Regions from separate parts of the Homo sapiens genome. Here region 1 is linked to region 2. The links are contacts of gene promoters, found by promoter capture Hi-C in human tissues and cell types (Jung and others, 2019). All regions are on one chromosome and are shown on one strand. The core of a region is centred on a gene start or on the middle of the fragment in contact, and the rest is flanking DNA. Distances in the headings are between cores, read along the strand shown. Region 1 has its middle 79 kb from the start of IZUMO3. Region 2 holds the start of IZUMO3 (IZUMO family member 3).

Region 1 (3,026 bases), core at 145-2,644, 79 kb after region 2:
GTTTCTTAAAAATTTTATAATTAATAATTTCATAAATAAAAGACATGTAAAGCAACTTGCCCTACCTGTTATCAAAACTTATGAATACACTACATAATTTGGAGTATAATAATAGCACAGGGTTAAGCACGCAAATGGAACAAAGCTGACACAATAAAACCCATTTATGAAACAAGGATATTACATTTTTAAAAATGTAATTCACCACTACTTTGGGAAAAAGTGAAGAGTATCATAACACTGTCTTTTGAAGAGGTTTTGAAGCAAGAGGAATCCCTGTACACTGCTAGTGAAGAAGTCAATTGGTTCAATTGCAGTTGGCATTATTTAGTGAAGTTGCATATAATCAAGACCAAGCAATTCTATTCCTATATTCTTAGAGAAATTTGTGTACCCATTCATTCAGATATGTGCAAAAACATTCAAAGATGCATTGGTCATGATAATAACACCTCAAAAGAACCTAAATATCCTGTCACATGCAGAACAGGATATTCATAAATAAAATATTATCCATCCAGGGAGTGAAAATGAATGCACTATAGCTATAAGCATCAATGTAGAAAAATCTTAAATGTTGAATGAAAAAAGCAAATTGCAGAAAAATACAAGCATTATGAGATTAAGTAAAATTTTTAAAACAGAGAAAATTAAATAACATACTGCTTAAGAATACATGCATATATGGTTAATTACAAAGGAAAACAAATCATTATCATAAAATTAAGGAAGTTATTGTTTCTGCTGGGAAAACGGGGAAGATGATTAGGAAATTCACAAGGGATATCAAATTTTCTCATATCGTTTTGTGTCTTAAGCGAGGTAGGAGATACACAGAGGTTTAGTTTATTGTTACACATTAAATTGTATGTGTAGTGTTTATAATTTATATGTTATTATTCTAAAAGCATTTTTTAAAGAGTTTACTATTTGGTTTGAGTTGCCCATGTATTTTCTATTTCTTCTGTACTTCGAAATTGCAAATCATGATACAGCATATAAAAATAGATTAATTGTGTATTACTTCTCAAATATATGACTGTTATAATTTCCACTTAAAATCAAGATTCAATATTTGAAGGCATTTAAAATACAAACTTCTTAAAATTTTACTGACCCTTTAGCTGCATTGCATTACTAATGATGAAATATGCAGATACCTGTAATTGTATATTTCTAATTCTGAAACTTTGTCAGTTACATATAATAATGTACCATGTAGCTTGCTAAGACAAAAGCTCTACACATTACAATATATTTTTGTTCCTGAAATTAAAGATGAGGAGGATTTATTTGTAAAAATGATTATAGAATTAATATACCCTAAGGCAATCTAACAAAACTAGCAATTCTAAACTCTTCCCTCATAGTCCAGACTTTTCTGTTTTTCTTACCCATTACCTTGGAAAAATTGACAACCTCAGGGTTGTCTACAACCACTGGGTGGTTGTAGCCCAAAGAACTGTTTCCAAAAAGAGAATTTTAGTAATAATAGAGGATCCACTCACCACCAATCAGGATTTACATATTCATGTTTCAATTCATGAAAATTATTACTGAAGCAACGTTCTGTGTGTGTGCATGTGACTATGTGTATGAGTGCACTTTATATTAAACCACAAGGACGTTGATCAGGACTTGACTTTTACTGAGAAAAGGCAGCTGGTAAACATTGTAGGCTTTGGATCCATGGAGTCTCTTTCATTACTACTCAACTCTGCTGTTCTAAAACAAAAGCAACTATCAATAATTCATAAATGAATGAGTATGGCTGTATTCTAATAAAACTTTATTTACAAAACTAGACAATGGGCTAGAATGTAACCTATTACCCTAATCTAGATTATTATCTAAACTTATCACTTTGCTAAAAATGTAAATGGATTATGTGTGAATTATGCATTGATTGGCTGCTAAATAATTTCAACTAAACACTCTTGAGTTAATTGAGCCTTTCACTCACCCTATTCCAAAAATGATGTAATCTTTTAATTCCTCTGACACAGATAGTTCTTTCCTAATTCCTGGCTGTCACTCACGAGACTAAGTGTTCTTTCTAATGAAATGTTCTTTCCTAATTACTTTCTTAAATCTGGGTGCTCATTATTAAGCTTTTGGTTTGAATATTACCAACGACAGCTTCATAGTATCCTCTCATTCTTTAAAAGACATATGCATGAGTTTTTAATCGTCTAATCTTTTCCCCTACTAGACTATAAGCTCCATGAAAACTGCTTACAAGATCCAGATCTCCAAACATTTTGCAATGCAGAACACTTAATTTATGCTTTTTTAGCCCCTCTAAAAGATAAGGTCTTGGTTCCACGTTCTACTTCCCTACACTTTCCTTCTATCCCCCTGACAAAAACTTACTTATCTGTCAGAATTTAACTCCAAGAAGAGTTCTTTCATTTAGCTGACCTACTACCCAAAACCCTCTATTCAATTTCTTACTCTCTCCTTTGGAATCATTCCTGATGCCAACACAGGCTGTCTTTTACTGCTCTGACATACTTGCTTTTCTGTTAATTCAGATTATTTTCTAACTTCTTCCAGGGGCTCAGATCTTGATCCACTCATCTATGCAGCCCTAGCACTTGGCATACTCTCTGTCACGTGAACAAAAGAAAAATGGTCTCAAACCTCTCTCAAGGAAGAAGTAGGCATTCCTGATAACATGCTTCAGCAATTTTATAATAAACTTCAACAGAATTATAAATTATTTAACAGAATTAGCTTTCTGGGAGACTAATTACACAACCCAGCCAATCAGCTCTCAGACAAAAGCCTAATCTTTGACAGAACGTATGCTGGTTTTCGTATTTAGTGTAAATATTACTACGTAGTCATTCTACTTTCTTTGAAAATGTTCCTACCTAGAATGAGTCTTTGAATTGGCCCACTAGGGGCCTTTACCATTACAGTAAAATTGCAATGATGTGATTTTAACATATCTTAACTAAATGTTCTGAAGAATTTCTCAGCAGAAATTCTTGGTAAGATCTCAATAAATATTTGTTGAAAAA
Region 2 (3,059 bases), core at 213-2,712:
ATCTCCAAAGGATTGCGCGCCATGAGAATTTGTGACTACCTGAAATGTTTAGCACAATGTCTGTCACATGGACTTGGTAGACGTATAAGTAATGGTAATTCTTTTAACTTCCCGCACAACATTCCACTGTGATCACCCCATATCTTAAATATAAATTCTACCACTAACCCTGTAGATTGCCAGTGTTTCCTGGTTTCCAGAAGGTCACAGCCATACAGGCAATGTATTAGAAAAGAGGTAACCAGTGCTCTTAAGAGTCTGAAAAGCAACCTCAATTTATTCAAATAACACAGAATATTTTTATTCAAAGGGCCATTGAAAGGAGAACATGTTTATTTGGACATCTTCCTTGTAGGTGGTCTGAGAGGGAAGCCCATGATAACCACTATGTTTTTATATGTTACATACTTTGCCAGTATTTTAGAATGCACTTGTTAAAGGATCTGAACTTTATTGGATTCATCACTCAGTATTCCTCAACTATTGTTTCTAGTATCTGACTCCACACTCTCTATAAGAAGAATGCTATAAAAAGATTAGAAATCACCAGGCACAGTGGCTCATGCCTGTAATCCCAGCACTTTGGGAGGCCGAGGCGGGTGAATCACCTGAGGTCGGGAGTTCAAGACCAGCTTGACCAACATGGAGAAACCTCATCTCTACTAAAAATACAAAATAAGCCAGGCATGATGGCACATGCCTGTAATCCCAGCTACTCAGGAGGCTGATGCAGGAGAAACACTGGAACCCGGGAGCGGAGGTTGAAGTGAGCTGAGATCATGCCATTGCACTCCAGCCCGGGCAACAAGAGTGAAATCCCATCTCGAAAGAAGAAAAGAAAAGAAAAAAAAGAAAAGAAAAGAAAAGAAAAGAAAAGAAAAGAAAAGAAAAGAAAAGAAAAGAAAAGAAAAGGAGAAAGAAAGAAGGAAGGAAGGAAGGAAGGAAGGAAGGAAGGAAGGAAGGAAGGAAGGAAGGAAGGAAGGAAGGAAGGGAAAGAAAAGAGAAGAAAGCAAGAAGAAAAGGAAAAGATTACAAGTCATGTCTAGAAAATCATCCTAGTGATAAATGTAGCCTGAAATATGTTACTGTCTATTAAAATTGCCAAATATTATTCTAGATAAATGCTCACTCCTTTATTCTCAACAATACTGCCACCAGTATTTGTCAACAATACTGCCCCAGTAGGGACCGAGACCCGCAAGAAACTCAATATTCTTGGCTTTTCTTACCTCTAATGTAGAAGCAGAGTTTGAGTTAAGCAATCTCTCAGGTTCTATAGGATCACTTCCATAACCCATCTCTGATGATAAACATCTCTGAAGGTCAGGAGGGGGTTTAAGAGTCTCATGAGGATGCAAGTCAGGGAGAGGGCTAAAGAAACACTTTTTCTGAGACATCTCCCTGCACAGAACTCTGCTTGTGTGAGCTCAAGGCTTCTCTATCTCTTGGTGTTCTACACTCAGAACTCAGGTATCCGCTCCCCAGCTGGCAGTTCCCTCTCCTAGAATGAAGGATAATAGTCAGTAAACAACTAAAGATCATTAAACTAAACAACTAAAGATTGCCCGATAGTGGGATGGAAACAGCGGGAAAAGTGGAGTCAGACTATCCAGAACCAGGCTCTCATTCCCGGATTTTTGAAGGAAAAGGAACTAAGTGAACTAGTTGCCAGGACAACCTGCTGTCGGGGAGCGGGGGTGAAGAAAGAAATGGGTGACCTGTGGTTATTCCTGCTCCTGCCCCTCTCAGCCTTCCATGGAGTCAAAGGCTGTTTAGAATGTGACCCCAAATTTATAGAGGATGTTGGCTCCTTGCTGGGAAATCTGATACCTTCAGAAGTCCCCGGCCGAACTCAGCTGCTTGAACGGCAGATTAAGGAGATGATTCATTTAAGCTTCAAGGTCTCCCACAGTGACAAGAGGCTTCGGGTGTTGGGTGAGGGAAGCTTGAGTTCCTGAGAGTCCAGGGGCTTAAACGGAGAAGGGAGGCAAGGAAGAGAACACCTGGGTCTACATAACTTCCTGCATAGATGTAATTATTCCCCTACATGTACCTTTACTCTCCCTCTCTAGCTGTTCAGCAGGTTGTTAAGTTGAGAACATGGTTGAAGAATGAATTTTATAAACTGGGCAATGAAACATGGAAAGGTGAGGTACTGTTTCAATGTTAAAAGTTTGTATTGCTCAAGCAAGCCTCAGAAAATTTGGCTGGGGAAAACAAAGATAAAAACAGACATAATTAACTTCTGAAGGGAAGAGCTACTTCTATTTTTTGACACCCCTTCCACTCCCTCTTAGGTGTCTTTATCTATCAAGGCAAGCTTCTCGATGTCTGCCAAAACCTGGAATCCAAACTGAAAGAATTACTAAAGAACTTCTCTGAAATTGGTAAGTAAAACTTTCTATATAACAGCACTGAAGTTATATGAAGGGAATAGAAAATGCGGGATGAGGGAAGAAATGCAAGTTCATAATAGAGTTATTTAGAATGGGTGGAGAGGTAACTGGAACTTAAAGGGTAAACAAAGACTACTTGGGTATAAATATGGCAAACTGTAGCTGGTTTTAAACTCATTAGAACTTTCTGATTCTCTTCTAGCTTGTTCTGAAGATTGCAGTGAGTACAGTACATGTGACGCCTTGAGGTTTCAGCCCATATTTTCCCATCTCCTTTGCTCTATATGGCCCTATCTCTCCCACCTGTTACACTGGGAAACCAATTCCTAGAGCTGTGGTTACAAGGGGTAACGTCAACAATACCTGATAACGAAACCTAGCTCATGAAATCTCAGACACCCCACATATTTTTGAGGTACTAGGAGGCCTTCTAACATATGGTTTACAACCCATTGCCCCAGTATAAGCTGAGGCATCCTTTTCCCGCTTTTTCCTGGAGATCAGACTTACAGATTTTGATCCATCAAGAAACTTGATTTCTAGGAGAAGAAGAAATTCACAGCAATGCAAACTTGAGAGTCCTGGGAATGCTTGAGATCAAATCCTCCACACTTGATGTATGACTAAGGAACCCTCGTGCCATGCCCTCTTTCTGATTATCTT

What was found. Contacts are between HindIII fragments. The study calls those that stand out against the background at their distance.
Region 1: a fragment that was not itself captured here is called in contact with the fragment with the promoter of IZUMO3 in region 2 in 5 of the 25 tissues and cell types used here (H1 embryonic stem cells, IMR-90 fibroblasts, dorsolateral prefrontal cortex and 2 more).

What each region holds. Positions count from the first base shown.
Region 1 is chr9:24,465,428-24,468,453 of GRCh38, reverse strand. No RefSeq gene overlaps it. Among named protein-coding and RNA genes, the nearest start is that of IZUMO3, 79 kb to the left of the region's middle. The HindIII fragment of the contact is 6,574 bases long and covers 1-3,026 here.
Region 2 is chr9:24,544,300-24,547,358 of GRCh38, reverse strand. It overlaps IZUMO3 (IZUMO family member 3), which reads left to right and starts at 1,462. Exons shown (of 7, transcript NM_001365008.2): 1 at 1,462-1,935; 2 at 2,073-2,147; 3 at 2,298-2,387; 4 at 2,599-2,616. The coding sequence starts at 1,710. RefSeq lists an enhancer at 1,813-3,012. The HindIII fragment of the contact is 4,602 bases long and covers 1-2,133 here.